Linked DNA regions of Homo sapiens: regions 1, 3, 4, 5 and 6 are each linked to region 2. The links are contacts of gene promoters, found by promoter capture Hi-C in blood cells and fetal thymus (Javierre and others, 2016). All regions are on one chromosome and are shown on one strand. Each heading gives the region's core, a stretch centred on a gene start or on the middle of the fragment in contact. The rest is flanking DNA. Distances are from core to core; before and after follow the strand shown.

Evidence for each region. Contacts are between HindIII fragments. The CHiCAGO score rates a contact against its expected background, and 5 or more counts as called.
Region 1: a fragment that was not itself captured here is called in contact with the fragment with the promoter of TAGLN3 in region 2 in 1 of 17 cell types (activated CD4 T cells); the score reaches 6.5 in activated CD4 T cells.
Region 3: a fragment that was not itself captured here is called in contact with the fragment with the promoter of TAGLN3 in region 2 in 5 of 17 cell types (M1 macrophages, total B cells, fetal thymus and 2 more); the score reaches 7.8 in M1 macrophages.
Region 4: a contact is called between a fragment that was not itself captured here and the fragment with the promoter of TAGLN3 in region 2, in 1 of 17 cell types (naive CD4 T cells). The highest score is 5.0, in naive CD4 T cells.
Region 5: a fragment that was not itself captured here is called in contact with the fragment with the promoter of TAGLN3 in region 2 in 1 of 17 cell types (activated CD4 T cells); the score reaches 5.4 in activated CD4 T cells.
Region 6: a fragment that was not itself captured here is called in contact with the fragment with the promoter of TAGLN3 in region 2 in 7 of 17 cell types (endothelial precursors, erythroblasts, activated CD4 T cells and 4 more); the score reaches 8.1 in endothelial precursors.

The regions. Positions count from the first base shown.
Region 1 is chr3:111,546,813-111,549,512 of GRCh38, reverse strand. All of the region lies in intron 2 of CD96 (CD96 molecule), which reads right to left. Among named protein-coding and RNA genes, the nearest start is that of CD96, 6.0 kb to the right of the region's middle. The HindIII fragment of the contact is 1,137 bases long and covers 725-1,861 here.
Region 2 is chr3:111,997,472-112,000,171 of GRCh38, reverse strand. It overlaps TAGLN3 (transgelin 3), which reads right to left and starts at 1,250. Exons shown (of 5, transcript NM_001008272.2): 1 at 1,058-1,250; 2 at 570-751. The coding sequence starts at 749. The HindIII fragment of the contact is 5,204 bases long and covers 1-2,700 here.
Region 3 is chr3:111,679,515-111,682,214 of GRCh38, reverse strand. The region is part of intron 1 of PLCXD2 (phosphatidylinositol specific phospholipase C X domain containing 2); the gene reads right to left. Among named protein-coding and RNA genes, the nearest start is that of PLCXD2-AS1, 3.4 kb to the right of the region's middle. The HindIII fragment of the contact is 4,779 bases long and covers 1-2,700 here.
Region 4 is chr3:111,731,985-111,734,684 of GRCh38, reverse strand. It overlaps a transcript of PHLDB2 not described here. Among named protein-coding and RNA genes, the nearest start is that of PLCXD2-AS1, 56 kb to the right of the region's middle. RefSeq lists an enhancer at 1-56. The HindIII fragment of the contact is 299 bases long and covers 1,115-1,413 here.
Region 5 is chr3:111,581,236-111,583,935 of GRCh38, reverse strand. The region is part of intron 4 of CD96 (CD96 molecule); the gene reads right to left. Among named protein-coding and RNA genes, the nearest start is that of ZBED2, 13 kb to the left of the region's middle. The HindIII fragment of the contact is 7,112 bases long and covers 1-2,700 here.
Region 6 is chr3:111,696,611-111,699,310 of GRCh38, reverse strand. All of the region lies in intron 1 of PLCXD2 (phosphatidylinositol specific phospholipase C X domain containing 2), which reads right to left. Among named protein-coding and RNA genes, the nearest start is that of PLCXD2-AS1, 21 kb to the right of the region's middle. The HindIII fragment of the contact is 2,467 bases long and covers 110-2,576 here.

The DNA.
Region 1 (2,700 bases), core at 44-2,543, 450 kb after region 2:
ATTCTCTACACTTGAACCACAAAGATGCATTTTTGAAATGCAAAACAAAAAAAATCAAACAAAACAACCACCTTTTAATTAGTTCCCACAGCTCTTAGGATAAAGACAAAACTCCTTAAATGGACTAATCAATCTTTCTAACCTTATCGTCAACTGCCTCACCTGTAATCCCTCTGCTCCAGCCATAATACCTTTTAAAATCTCCCCTGCCTACCCAGTTGTTATAACTTCCTTCCCCCATAGAACCTTTGCATGTCCTGTTCTTTGTAAAGCTCTGTGTTCACTTGGTTAACTCCAGTTGAAGCAGCGCTTCCAAAGGAAAGGAAAGGAGAGGGGAGGGGAGGGGAAGAGAGGGGAGGGGAGAAGAGAGGGAAATGAAAATAAGGGGGAAGGGAAAGGAAAGGACAAAGTAAAGAAAGTCTTTTCTGATTTTCCTATTATACCCTCTCATACACTACTTCCTCACTTCTGAAGCACTTCTCACTGTTGCAATTTGATATTTGTTTGCTTATTTGATGAATGTCAACTTCTTCCTATTGAACTTTGTGATTCATGAAGACACAGTCATGCATATATGCCTACTCTGTGCCTAGTGCCCAGTGTCTAGCACTGTAAGCACTCAAAAACACTTGTTGGATAAAGACTAAATACAGGAATTTAAGAAGAGCCAGCATTCAGGCTCAATACAAACTAGACAGGATAACAACATGTTTTAGACCAAGCTTATCAACATTGTAGTATCAAAATTTTATTGCTACTATTACTACTACTTCCAGGACCATGACTTCTCCAACCGCATTCACTGCTACTACTGCTTCCAATAACATTAACAGCCCACCAAGGCATTTACTGTGAACTAGTAAATTAAAGCCATGTTATACTCTTATAACTGATCTTAATAACTACAAATTTTAAAATGCACCAAAATCTTACAATCTGAAGCATTATGGGATCCAGTAGCATTCAAATGAATGAAATCTAGATTATGACAATCCAAGGCTTAACTCAGAGAACTGCATTTCTTGGAGTGACTGAAAATCTCCTAACCTAGGAGGAAACTCTGTCAAGTGAAAGCGAAAAAGAGGCAAACCTCACACTGTTTATTATATTTCCACTCTTGTCCACAATCTCAGAGCACTAAGACACACACAGAGACAAAATATTGTGAAAAGAGAACAGAATCCTTTCACAGCTAGGCCCTTGGGGAACATGGGAACAGGATTTAGACACACACTGTGTTGTGAGCAGACAAGAGAGAATGACTCAAACAGCAACAGAAAAGAAACAGGAAGAGATGATCAACTCAAACACTTCAAGTCCCTCAGCATTTTCAAATTAGGTTCTTATGCACCACTTCAATTTGCATTTGTTTATGTACTATATAAGTGTTTGCACTTCAGGTGTGTTTTGCTTACCCAACTAGCTTGTAAACTTAAAGATTGCACAGGGGCATAAGAAGAAAACTGTACAAGTGAGAGGAGAAGAAGCAAGAGAAGATCAAAACAGTAAAGGGTAGAAAGAAAATATGCTATTGGTTGTGAACTTGACAGAGCTCTCAGATGGCAACTGCCTCCCTTTAGTCAGCTGCCTACTCTGTAGCTCCGTACCAGGCTTACATTTGTGGTCACTCTGTGGTGAAGGATGTTTCCCCCTTCTGTTTTGCTCTTTTCTATTTTACTCCCTTTGTACCCAAAATCACAATACCAGAACCATTTCTCTAACACTGAGGCCATTGCTTTTCATCTGATCCAGATGACAGCAGCAAAGTTACATTCAGAAGACCGGAAATTTTCCAACCGCAAAAAGTATAGATACGGTTTCTGCCTCTCCAGTGACCTGCAGTTTTTAGTAGCTACAAGCTTAACTCCCTTGGTTCTCTTTATTTTAAGAAATACATTTCTTTAAAGGCAACATCATCCTCCTTTCTGGATAATATACTATCTGTTCTCCATTGCTGTCTTCATTTTGTGGCATCACTTATTCTATTTCCTATAAGGTACATCAGTCCATGTTGCCAAGTCTCAATGAAGGAAACACTGAGTCCTCCGTGAGGCAATAGTATTGTTTACTGGTTCAGGCAGAATGTACAAAAAAAACTATGTATGAAACCAAGGTCAATGTGTACTTGTACTAACATTACATGGCAAATGTCTTACTGGGTTCCAAATGAGGTCAATATATAAAAAGAAGGAGCAGGGCTCATATTTAATTGGAACTGAGAAATAGAATTTGCTCAATATAATTATTACTATTCTTAATTGAAAACTACCATTTACCAAACTCTTATCCTTTAGCAGGAACTATATGTTTAAGTGCATTACACAGATTATCTCATTTAATCACCAAGCTAGTGATACCTGTAAAGAAAGCACTATAATTATCCATATTTGTTATGTAAGAAACTTGAAACAACTTGGGAATGATGAAACGTATGGTAAATGATAGAGCCAATATCCAAATACAGGCTACCTGAATCAAACTATGTATAGCTAAACAGTTTTCTATATAGGTCTTCCATTTCTCTTTACTTCAATCCCACTCCACTCCATCCTTAATTGAACTGAAGTGTGTGTGTGTGTGTGTGTGTGTGTGTATGTGTCTGTGTGTGTGTGTGTGTGGTGTGTTTTCCTCCTGGAAAACAGCAAGGGAATTGGGCATTATAAGATAGTAGTTGATGGGACCTTGGCCTATAGGTGGACT
Region 2 (2,700 bases), core at 1-2,500:
GTTTGAATCACAGAGCCTGCGGCCCTCAAACCCTCAAACACACACGAGCATTTGGTCAGAAATGCAGTTAACAAATAAGGACTCCTTTCAGTTTCATGAGAACGCATCCACTCAATAAACAGACACTGAACACTTCCAGGGTGCATGGCTCCCACAAGAATGTGAAGGTGGCTAGTCCCCCTCCTCCCTTCTTTGTTTTACTGTGTAACCAACACGATCCCCTAGGGAAAGAAATGGCCCCAGAAGAGCTGATGCACCAGGAAGGCTGGGGAAATTACAAGGACATACTTATCTCTATTCTCATTAGAAAAATCAAAAGGGCTTCGAATTTGCCAACTCAGAAGGGAGATGTAATGCTAGGGTGAGTGGAGAACCCCCAAGCTAGCTAGGGAATAGTGCATGGAGCCCAAATCTTCCAACCCTGAAGAAATAAAGGCATTCTCATCCCCTCCCGGTGAGACATAGAGCTTGGCAACAGCAGCTCTTCCCGCAGCCTTACGTTAAAAGAAAGGGCCCTGGAGGGTTTCCCTGCCCACCGCCCCAGCAACCGAGATCGCTGCCGGCCTTACCGTCCCGTCCATTAACCATTTCTGAAAATGGGCCCTGCCGGGGGGCGGGTGCTCTATGTCCTCGGCGCACTGCAGGATGATCCAGTCCACCAGCTTGTTCTCCAGGTCCGCATCATACTTCTGCTCGATCTTCTCCTGCACCTCTCGGCTTAAGCCATAGCTCGGGCCCCTGTTAGCCATCTCTGGAAAGAAGAGAAGACACGCGCGGCATCCACACAATAGCAGCAGCAGCAGCCTCCGGCTCCCTGCAGACGGGGCTGGGATATGGCTGGGCAACCTGGCCCAGCAGCAGCAAAGAGGGCAGAAAGCCGGGCGTGGTTTAAATCAAGGAGCCAATGAAGCCAATGGGGTTTCACCTACAAACGGGAAAGAAAAGCACAGCTACCCGCCAGTAACTCTAGAATAAACCTCCGGCCGGTCCAGGGGGGCTGGAATCCCCCTCCCTATCCCGCCTATCAATGAGACCAGATGATATAACACGGACTCACAATCAAGTCTGAACCCCCAGGCAGCAAGGGGGATGGGTGGCGGACGTTTCTTCCCCCTTCTCAGTAGCACTTTGCAAAGGCAGAAACGATGAGATCGGGAAGAGCAGGTAATTAGCAGGCAGGGAGGAAGCCTCCTTTCATGTTGAACTGCAGCCGCTGCTGCCTCGCGCCTGGAAGAATGGCACATTGATTTGATTTTCTCATGGCTGAGGGGGCTCAACCAGGGCCGTTGCTAAGAGCCCTCCAAAAAGCCAGCCCTCTCCTGTGTCAATCAAGCCCGCCTGCCTCCCTCCCGCTGAGAGCCTCTTTCTCATCTGCACAATTCTTTCCCTCTTCTGGGGAGACAGCCGATTGTCTACGAGGCCAGCAGCTGCACAAGGGGATGAGGGCCTGTGGGAGGGTCCGTTCTACCAACTGTCCATCTGTCGGGAATAGCCAAGCTACTTTCCCCCTGCCCTGAGGTAACAACTGTCTGGCAGGACAGGAGGGGAGGGACTGAGAGCTGCTATCATTTACTTGTTCAGCTGCCAGCCCAACTTCACCCAGAAACTTCCATCCTGAAACTGTTGTGCCTCAGTTTGACTTATTCAAGGGAGGTATTTTTTTCATGCTACTCTTAACTGAAAGACACTAAGAACAAGTTTTATAAATTATTATTATAATTCTTACTATATATTTTTAGACAGAGTCTCGCTCTGTTGCCCAGGCTGGAGTGCAGTGGCACAATCTCGGCTGGCTGCAACCTCTGCCTCCTGGGTTCAAGCGATTCTCCTGCCTCAGCCTCCCAGGTAGCTAGGATTACAGGTGTGTGCCACCAGGCCTGGCTAATTTTTGTATTTTTAGTGGAGATGGGGTTTTGCCACGTTGGTCAGGCTGGTCTTGAACTCCTGACCTCAGGTGATCTGACTGCCTCGGCCTCCCAAAGTTCTGGGATTACAGGCATGAGCCACCACGCCCGGCAAGTTTTATAAATTAAACAAAACTCAACGACTAAGAACTCTTAGAGTGAAAGGTTTTGATAGAATGTAAAGACTTCATCTGAAGTAAGGACCGTGAAGGCACAACCGACATATTGTCAGAAGTAACTGAATATTTCTCATGGGCAAACAAGCACTCAGGAGAAACCATTAGCTCTAAGTTGGCCCCACATTTTTATAACAGCTAAAGGGCTTGGCAGTTTGTCCTCCTAGACTGTAAGCCATTTGTGGGTAAAGATTGAGTCTCATTGGTGTTGTGTAATTCTCTGGGTGTTTTTCATGAGAAAAATTCCACATTTTTTTTCGTTTGGTTCATTTCTTCATTCAACAGATATTTACTGAGTGTTTATGCCAACTACTGGACTGAGGAGGAATAAAATACAATTCTTGCATTGAAAACAGATTGATAAATTGACTCAAGCATATTAAATAAAGCAATTCTGGGTACATGGGATGATGATCTTTGTCCCTGTGGGAAATTGATTAGAAGCTATGCAGGAAATGACTCCTCAAATAATACATGTATTGAGAAAAATCTCCTACCGGCTGATGCCTGGACTAATGAAAATTTAATTACTTAGGAGATATGTGGGTGGTTTGCCTGAAAAAGACTTAGCGGTCAGTCGTTGAAGGCCTGGCAGACAGTCCTCTGAAAACAGAAAACTA
Region 3 (2,700 bases), core at 189-2,688, 320 kb after region 2:
CAGTGTTCAGTAATATAATCCAAATTCCTATCGATGTTTAACAACACAAGAGAGAAGGTGGAAGGACTCCTGCTTAACCACAAATGTAAATACTAAAATAAATTTAGTCACAGATCTCCTCCACCTAAATTTGGTTCTTGATGCGTGTTCAAATTCTTTTCACACACACAAACACACCCACCTATTACAATGTCTACAAATAATCCCTCCTCTGCAGGCCTGGTTTGAAACTCTAATTGGGGTTAGTCAGCATTGGCAAAGTGGTTTGCGATTTTCCCAGAGGCAAAGTTGCAGGACGCTAAAGCATTTCACTAGCATTACCTTTAGTGTGCCTGTGCTCCTAAGTTCCTAGAGGCAGGAGAGAGATGTAGAAGCTACCTGTCAATCTAGTGGAGGTCAGGTCAGATCACGTGTTAGAAACCAACTCCTCAGCTTCAGAAACATGTCTGAGAGAGGAGCTTGCAGGTGCAAGCAGCACGCTCCAAGGGTCTGAAGTGTCAGTGGGCATGTTTTGCAAGATATTTATGACTGGTGAACGATAGCATGTATTGAGATTTGGGCCCAGTGGAGGTTGAGGCTGAGGCTAACGTCATAGCTAAGTATCTGTGCATGTGTGTGTGTTGGGTAATGGGTGGTACATGTGTGTTGCATGTGTGGGTGATGTATGTGTTTGGAGGGATGATGAAGCTATTATTCCAATAGCTGGGGGAAGGAATTATAAAACATGTATAAGGATTTGTTCAAAGGAAAGCATTTTGTAACATTCCCACTCTCAAGCTAGGAACAAAATGACTGGGTTAGGAGGGCAAGTGATGAGGAAATGAGGAGAGCAGAAAAAAGTTAACAACATGTTTCTGTCACAGAGGGCTGAGTTTTTCCCAAAGGCTCTGGATGTCTGGGGATGACAGTCTGACAGCTGAATTTGGGATGGGACAGGACAGAGTAAATAACTAAAGAAAGTTTTCTGGCTGTCTTGATCAGCCACCTGCTATTGCATCTAAGACACCCTTGGCACTCACATCCTGGGGAACCCTCCGTGTATCCTTCCCTTAACTTTAAAGCCTCCTTTGCAGGGTAACCATTCAAGTTACCCTAATCTGATCAGACAGAGAACACTGAGTCAGACAGTTTAATTGGACAGCCAGCTCCTTAACTAGATTGTAAATTACCTGAGGGTATAAACTGCATTTTACACCTCTTTTTTGTTGTCCATTCCAGTCACAGGCTTTCAATAAATGAATGTTCTGATTGATTTTTTTAAACGATACATAATAACAATTGTTATTATTATCTAGTGCTTATTTTGTGAGAGAAAGCATACTATATGAATTAATTTATTTCTCACACTAAGAAATGAGGTGGTGCATAGATTACCTGTGTTACAGAGAAGGACACTGAGGCACAGAGAGGTTAAGTAATTTGTCCAAAGTCACACTGCTTGTAAAGGGCAGAATCAGTATTTAAATCCAGATAGTCTGGCTGTTGTATTCATACTCTTAACCAATCCATGATCTTTCTGTTTATAGACATGTGTGATTCTGGAATTCCTTGTGGCTTTTGTGATTTGCAGGAGGAGAGATGGCTAGAGAAATGATGAGCCTTTTTAAGAGTGAAACCTACTAATGGAACCACCACAGTCATAGTGTCTTTTTATTTTTCACCATGGCCACTCAGAGGGGGGAAAAAGCAAAACAAAACAAAAATAAACGATTCTCATTTAAGAGACAGTTTTGGTCTTGTATGATTTTTTTTTTTTCATGATTGAGTCAGCCTTGGTAGATTCAGCTTGGTCCTTGGTTTCCCACAACCTCAAATCCTGTAGGAAAATGGATTTGTTTTAGGGCCAACTCACGGTTCATACTATCCTCAAAGTAGAGCCAACCAAAACTTCTTGTTACACAATTTATTTTGTGCTCTTTTGGGGTGGTCTCCAAATCTCTTTTAGATATGCCAAATCTGGTTCAACTTTCAGAAGCAAGATCTGAGTAATGACTCCATCCTGCTCCACTAAGGGATTTTGTCTCCATGTCACACATGTGGGAAGAGGGTGTGCGGCCACAGGAGGAAGACCTATAGAAATCACTAAGTACTCAAGGGCAAAACTGCTAGGAAAAGGATAGGATTCCAGAAAGGTAGAAAAGAAAAGAAGGGAATGATCACTAGCAACATGAGATCAGAGAATCATCTGGGAATCGGAGAGCAGTGAGGAGCACCTGTGGAAGGGTTGACCCTGCCAAGGGAAGGCTGGAGACCAGGTCAGGTCAGTGGAAAGAAAGCAAAGAGGGGAACAAGAAATGAGATCTGGGAGAGGCAGCAGCCAGGCAGCAAAGATGAAAAGCTCTAATTTGACAAGGGAAGAAGGAAGGCAGGAGGGATGTTGGGTGAAAGAATCGCTCCTAGAAAAGAAGTTACACCAGGGCTCTGCTTCTGACTCTTGCGACCATTTTCAGCCTCAAAATTTTCATTTCTAATGGGGCTTAGTGATGAGCCTTATCAAGCCTAATCTTCAGGAATATTATGCGCAATAACAAGAAATGGATTGGAAAATCTTCATATGGTTTCATGTGGCTATTTGTGAAAGCTGAACTTAACCAATCTATTCAGCTCTGATCACAATGAAAAACAGCGGTGGCTGCAAACCATGTTTCCAGCATTCTTACTCCATACTTTCCATACTTTCAATTATTCACTCAACTGTCA
Region 4 (2,700 bases), core at 15-2,514, 270 kb after region 2:
TATATTCTAACTACCTAACGTTGAAAAACAATGACAATGCCTATTCTAATCTAGTCAATCTGAAGAATAGTCTCCCTCTACTTACTATCCAATATTCAGGAAATGGAAAGAAAAAGCTGTACATACCCTTAGGGGCTTCCAGTTTGTTTTAGGCCCTGAGCCAGAAGCTACAAAAAAAGGACAGGTCAGACCTGTGTGTCTGTCCCTAAGGCAGCCTTCAGTAATGTGGGGAAATATGGCCAATGCATAAATTTTTAAAAAAAATTTTTTGTAGAGACAGAGGCTCACTTTGTTGCTCAGGCTGGTCTTGAACTCCTGGCTTCAAGCAATCCTCTGCCTCACCTTCCAAAGTGCTAGGATTACAGGCATGGGTTGCCATGCCCGACCTAGCCAATGCATTTGATCACCCCAAGATCCTTTTCCCTCGTCAAAACCACCTCCATCACTTGCATTATCTATGAACATCCTCTGGATACCAGCCAGATTCACACTTAACATTTTGCAGTGCTTAATATCTTCACAGAAACGTATCAGTTTTCCATAATTCTCCACAACATTCTTGAGAGGTAGCCACAGACTTACCCAAAGTCACACAAGGGTTTATGTCTACAATGGCCTCCACTCTTGCATCTAGTTAACTGCCTCAGACACTAAATATTCAGCCACAAACCCTGCCTGAGGGGAGTCACTTCAGTTCCACAACTGATTGACAAAAATAATGTCAAACATTACCTTGTCCTACATGACCCAACTCCTTCCCTAAAGGGAGTTCAGAAAAATAGGACTTCAGCATTACTAGGCTTCTAACTAATGACTATAGGAGCCAGGAACCACTGCACAGGCCCGAAAGTTGTATGTGGTGACCATATGACAACATTTCTGCAATTAGAGGAGTTATATTCAGACTTAAGGAAGAGTGAATCATATTAGATAAAAATTACATATTTCTAGAGTGTGTAGACTTGAAGGGGAAAATTTCCATGTTTTCCTTGGTGATTACTTTATAACTTTATTCTTCCTCAAGAATCACTCAATAACTTGTTTCATAGTTATCATCTCCTTCTTCCCCATAGACCTCCAGTGATGAGGGAAGCTCCCTCCAAAGCCACAAGCTTTGTACATAGAGTGGCATTGGTATCATCAGGTTTGCATATTAGTTTTGCTCATGTTTGTTTATCATTGAGCTGGGGAAGGGGGGTCTTGGGATATTTACTATTCTCGGAAGGAGAAAAACTTACTTCTGGTGAGAAGAGAATCTGGACTATAGCTTCAGAGGAGCATTTCTTCTGTGTTGCCCATGCCTTTGCTACAGAGGGACTCAGGCCAGCAAAGGCTTTGGTGGTCCTCCTGATTCAGGGTAAGAAACGGCCTAGTCTCAGTAAATGATTGACCTGGCTGCCGATGTGATAAGCTTAGGTAAATAGGCTTGATTCTGCTCCAGTAATTTCAGGACTTTTAACTCTCTAGGTTCCAAAGCAGAAAAATATACGTGACTTCCTGGGAGAGCCTATCATACGAGGTTGACAGCCCTGTGAATGGACAGTATATTTCTCGGAATATATTATTCTATACCATATACTACAGTATATGTACACTGTCCTCTCTGGTATGTCTTGAAAATTGAAAAAAATTATGCAACGAAAATTCTGGAACAAAACCATGCTTGTGGAGTTACCACCAATGAAATCATTTTAATAAATCGCACATATAATTTGTTATAATGAAAAATTTTTAAAAAACCTTCCAAGTTTCTGAAATACGTACAGGAGCAACAACAATTTTCAGAAGAGATAGAAGACAGAAGGAAAATACAGCCTGCTTTCCAGAACAGGCTGATAGAAAAATGACTGAATTCAGACACACACCCGGGTCTACCATATCTCCAGCAGACCCTCCTCAGAAACACTCTGGTGACGAGGCTGTATATGCTGCTCATTTTGTTATTACAAGAGAAGGGCCAGTGACCAGAGAGATCACCTACCTTGTCTGCTGCTTTTCAATCCCGACTCTTCCCTCAGCTTCTTTCCTGACTCAGCAGGGATGGCCCATGGCTGTTCCAGCGATTGCTGAAGAGAGTGGGATGTTGGGAAGACACATTAACACAGGTTTCTCCTTTTCCCCAAGCATGAAGGTGAGGTTCCTTTCCATTTCCTTTCCTGCTCTCTCTGGCCTCTGCAGACTGTGGTCACAGGCAGCAACTTGCTTGCAGCCAGGTATATTGACAGATGTGAAGGAGGGAGTCTGCCCTGGCCTCAGCCGCCTGGTCTAGCCAATCATTACACACCAGGACAGACTGCTAGTCCTGCTTAAATCCAACCAGAGCTGCATGGAAAAATCAGATGGCAGGACTGTGGGGGGCAGAAAGCACAGTCTGATAGCCATTGGCTATCCAGAAAAGTGATTCCCTTGTAACTGCATCTGGGAAGTGGACAAGAGGCCCCGAGAATAGTTTATAGAGGAAACGAAATTTTTATTCCTTTAGATTTCAGCAATCTCAGAGGGAAATCTGGAAGTCACTTTATCAAATGTCCTATTTAATAGTGGAGTTTCTTCTATTAAATTCTTGTATGGTGAGAAGCATCTGGTAGTTTTTTAAATAAATATGGCTACCATTCATTGAGAGAGTATTATATGTTATGCATTTCATGCATATTACCACAAATCCTGATGGTAATGTTGAGATTTTATTTCTATTTTATG
Region 5 (2,700 bases), core at 25-2,524, 420 kb after region 2:
CATAAGTAGGAAGGAGCCTAATGTTAATCTACAAGACCATGGGGAAAATGTCCCCAGGCCACATCAGAGACCTTCACAGCAGCCCCTCCCATCACAGGTCCAGAGGCCCAGGAGGAAAAAGTGGTTTCCTGGGCTGGGCCCAGGGTCCCCTTGCTGTGTGCAGCCTCGGGACTTGGTGCCCTGTGTCCCAGCCATTCCAGCTATGGCTGAAAGGGGCCAACGTGCAGCTTGGGCCATTGCTTCTAAAAGTGTGGAATCCCCAAGCCTTGGCAGCTTCCACATGGTGTTGAGCCTGTGCGTGCAGAGAAGTCAAGAACTGAGGTTTGGGAACATCTACCTAGATTTCAGAAGATTTATGGAAATGTCTGAATACCCAGCAAAAGTTTGCTGCAAGGGCGGGGCCCTCATGAAGAACCTCTGCTTGGGCAGTGCAGAAGGGAAATGTGGGGTTGGAGCCCCCACACAGAGTCCCTAATGGGGCACTGACTAGTGGAGCTGTGAGAAGAGGGCCACCATCCTCCAGACCCCAGAATGGTAGATCCACCAACAGATTGCACTGTGCTCCTGAAAAAGCTGCAGACACTCAACACTAGCCTGTGAAAGCAGCCAGGAGGGAGGCTGTACCCTGTAAAGCCACAGGGACAGAACTGCCTAAGAACATGGGAACCTACCTCTTGCATCTGTGTGACCCAGATGCAAGACATAGAGTCAAAGGAGATCATTTTGGAACTTTAAGATTTGACTGCCCTTTTGGATTTTGGACTTGCATGGGGCCTGCAGCCCCTTTGTTTTGGCCAATTTCTCCCATTTAGAATGGTTGTATTTACTGAATGCTTATACCCCCATTATATCTAGAAAGTAACTAACTTGCGTTTGATTTTACAGGCTCATAGGCAGAAGGGACTTGCCTTGTCTCAGATGGGACTTTGGACTTGGACTTTTGGGTTAATGCTGAAATGGGTTGAGAATATGGGGGACTGTTGGGAAGGCATGATTGATTTTGAAATGTGAGGACATGAGATTTGGGACAGGCCATGGGTGAAATTATATGGTTTGGCTGTGTCCCCACCCAAATCTCAACTTGAATTGTGTCTCCCAGAAGGGACCTGGTGGGAGGCAATTGAATCATGAGGGCTGGTCTTTACCATGCTATAGTGAATAAGTCTCATGAGATCTAATGGGTTTATCAGGCATTTATGCTTTTGATTTTCCTCATTTTTCTGTTGCTGCTGCCATGTAAGAAGTGCCTTTCACCTCCTGCCATGATTCTGAGGCCTCCCCAGCCATGTGGAACTTTAAGTCCAACTAAATCTCTTTTTCTTCCCAGTTTTGGGTATGTCTTTATCAGCAGCATGAAAATGAACTAATGCAGCTTAGAAATAAAGTCTCATTATAAAGGTCCCTGAAGTGGAGCAGAGAAACATTTGATTCTTGTTTGGTTGCTTGGCACTAGGAAATATCAGGGAATATTTCAGTGATTTTGTTGTTTTACTAGATTTTAAGTGCCTCTGAGCCAGTATTTTATCAATTTCTTCATCTCTAGCACTTAACTGCCCAGCACAAACTAGACATTAAGTACATCGTGTTGAACAGAAGTGGCTTCAAGTAAATTCTTGAGCATAGCAAACACAGCCTTCTATGACTCAGTGGAAAGAATGCTAAACCTCCAGTCACAGATGCTGTCAGTGCCTGCTACAGCCACTAGCCATTTACCTTGGCATACTGAAGATCTCTTACTGGGATAACTCTTTGATGACTAGATGACTCTTTGCATAATGATTTATTGAGATTATGGGAGTATACTTAGTCCACAAGTAGTAAAAACTGGGAGTCCCAGAGAGTTAATAGTGATACAGATGGAGAGATGGTAGATGAATACCCCAGCTTTCTTGCCCTTCATGTGGGATAACTCTGATGTGTGTTCTATGCTGTCTCCCAGTAAGATGAGCTCTAAACCTATGGTGCTAACTGATATAATCTTGTACATTTTCTTATCTTCCTTCCCTTCCCTGACTCACTTTCTCACTCCTTTTCTGATGTTTCCCAGGATGGCCTTTCAAATAAATTAACCGCAATCCTTATCTCGATGTTTTATTTCAGGGGAACCCAAAACCAAGATACAACCTGAAACACTAATGGATGGAGAGGTATCTCTTACCTCCTGTTAACAAATACCAGCAGAATAAAAGCCCTGAAAGAAAGAACAACTACTAAAAATTGCAGAGGTGACAGGGTGAGACAGATTTTCTTTGAGGTTGAGGACAATCAGATTTGGAATTTAGGAGTGGAACAGAACCCTGTGATGGGCAGGTGACTCCCTGCCAAGGAAAGGAAAACCAAAGGAGACCAGTGAAGGAGATGCAGGAAGTGGCAAAATTGCTGGAGTAGCCCCTCTTGTCCCTGGTCTGTTAGACAATGAAGAGTTGAGCAATGGACATTGTTTGGGAAGAAGAAATATGCTGGGTTTAGGGCATGTGGAATAGATCTGATATATATTTGGGTATTGATTTCAAGGTTTTCATGGGTGTTTTGGGGAGACTTATTCTATATGAGGAATCACCAAGGGATGTAAAGTAGGTTCTTATAAGATATGTGGTCAGGGCCACAATATATACTTGGGTAACACCTCAAAATAGGTTAAGGACTGGATGAGACTCCACCCAAACACAACCCGCCCAGCCAATTTACTAAATGCAAAAA
Region 6 (2,700 bases), core at 94-2,593, 300 kb after region 2:
ACACACTATGAAATGATACATTTCATTACAGTACAATGGCATTTCAGATTACATGATGACCACACTTGTAGCCATGGAGGGAAGATTGAGACAAGAGTTAAGTGAAGCTTATAAGAAGATAGAGAGAAACTCCCCATCTGGGTAGGTGAGGATGGTGACCCTAAGTCAAAGAACTCCTGACTTCACATATTTAAGAAAACCTCCTGTCTTCACCTCCCTTAGGTCCTCCTGTCTCTAAGTCCTTCTAACTTTGAAGCCCATTAGTTCCTGCAGGTGCTTCACTGATCCCACTCTCCCCACCCCATGTGTATTGACACCATTCAGTGTATCTGTGCCTTTAGGCACTGACATTGCAAAAATTTGTTCTTAGGGAGTGAAAAATCTTATTCTTCTATGTACAAAGTACAGATACATCTGAGTGTTATAATTTCACAGGGGAGGAGGGGGGGAAATAAGGAATAGAAATGCCTAATAAGACTCCTTCAGGGAGTGATTATGAACAAAAGGCTGAGACAGACCACCACCCTAGACTGAGGTTCCTGGCTTGTCTGGGCTGAACCTCTGACACTGTCTCTTTTTATCCTTAATTGGCCTGCCTCTCAATGCCTCCAGCAATGTTTCCCTCCCATCCATAAGGTGACCCAGTACTGGAAGGTTCTATTCCCATCCCCTGTCTCTAGAACACTAATGGGTTGGGAACCACTGAATTTCTTCTTTTCCAGTAATCTTTTTAAGTATTCTCACTTGCAATTTCCAGGACTACCAACAAATCATTTTTCTGTCTACACAGTCCCAAAGGACTCAGACTTGCACTTTGTAAGATACTAGTTAAGAAAGAACTTCACAAATGGTGAGTCCTAACACCTAACTTAGTGAATTACCATAGCTCTGAATAAGCTAAATGGAGTGTCCCCGCAGTGGATAGGGGCACAGAGTCTGTTGTCAGGCTGCCTGAGTTCATAATCCTGGCTCTACTGCCTACTAGTTATGTGAATAAAATGCTGGGCCTCAGTTTCCTCATCTGCACAATGTGGACAACAGCAGTACTAACTTCATTGGTCTGTTGTGAAGACTAAATGAGTTAACTCAGGCAAACACCCAGAAGAGTCCTTGGCTAATAGAATGAGCTCAAACATGTTATTATTATTAATTATTAAGAAATTTGTGTCATCTTTTATTTGGATGATACTATCTGAGAAACAAATAATTCTGGTTTTTAAATAAAGCCATGAAACCTCAGTAAATATTTATATTTGAGGATCTGTCATGGCAATTAACATTTAGGGCTAGGAAAAATGAAGTCTGTAGTTTAAGTCATTTATTTTAGGTTACACCCAAAATCAACATCAAAAGGAGTAAGTTTGGATCATAGTATTCTACAGTTGAAATTCAAATTGGCACTAAAACTAAAATTATAAATTATTAATATCTCTAGTCTGCTCCTATGTCAGTACTTGGAAATAAATACAGTGACTACACAATTTGCAAGTATAAGACAGAAAATTCTGAGGATGTTCTTAAACTTTTTATTTTTAACAACATAAAATTAGATGTCATCAAGTGATTTTTATGGAAAAACAAATCCAACCTGTTGCCAAAAAGATGTTGAATGACAGATTTTTTGAGAGTAGAAGCCTATATAATCCATTATTTGAAATGGAAAAAACAGTAATGTCTTCCCAACCCATCAAAAAAACCCTATCAGTTTTCTCAAATACCAAATATCATTAAAACACTCAAACACCAATGTAATCATCCACAGATAATCTTTCCCTAATATAAACAGCAGAACCAGTAATATTTTCAGAAGTTTTTCTGTATTTTTTTCTACAAATTAAAAATATTAATGCATAGTTCTTAGAGATGTAAGTATGGCCAAGTTTATGTTAGTTCATCTCTCTCAATATGCTTTATCACCCAATTTTTCTTTTTAGGCCTCTCGAGTGTGCTTGTTTTATTCAGAGGCTTTTTGCTTTCTTAGAAGACATTCTCACTCAATAATGTGGTAAGTTGAGAGCGCTAATGCACAGCTCGAGCCTGCTGGGAGGGTAGCTGAACTATGGATGTAACACATTCTCCATCTTTTTGACAAGGTGTACCTGCAACTTAAATGTTTTTGCTAGCTCACACGATGGGATTTTTTTATTTAAGTAGTGAATTCTGGATAAAATAAATCTTATAAGTTATAGCAAATGTTTGGATAGCAAGAGTTTGGATGGAATATCTACAGACGTGTTTGGAGCTAAGGTCTTCTCGGTTACCAAAGTATTTATGTGCATGTCTATGTGTACATGTTGGCACTAAAACTGGCCCATCTTAAATGAAATCCAGAAAATTCTCTTATTCAGTGGAAAAAAAGCCCACCTTTCATTTATTTGGAAATATGTTTACTAATATCAATAGAAAACTTCTAATAGATAATAATTATTCTCTAAAAATTCTTTTAAAGACAAATATTATTTTGAGCTCATTTTTGAGAGTCATCTAAATGCCATGTAAGCTCCAAATTTTTATCAAGACCTAAATCATATTATTTCTATCAAAACTAAGATCATCTGGTCGGTCCATCGTAAGCTTGGGCTAAAAACATATATTGGATATGCATGTATTTTCTATAACGAATAGTCAGAGTGTTCAATTAAAGCTTGTCTATTTTATCTCAGTCTGAATTTTAGGTCACATGTCTGTAATTTGCATATT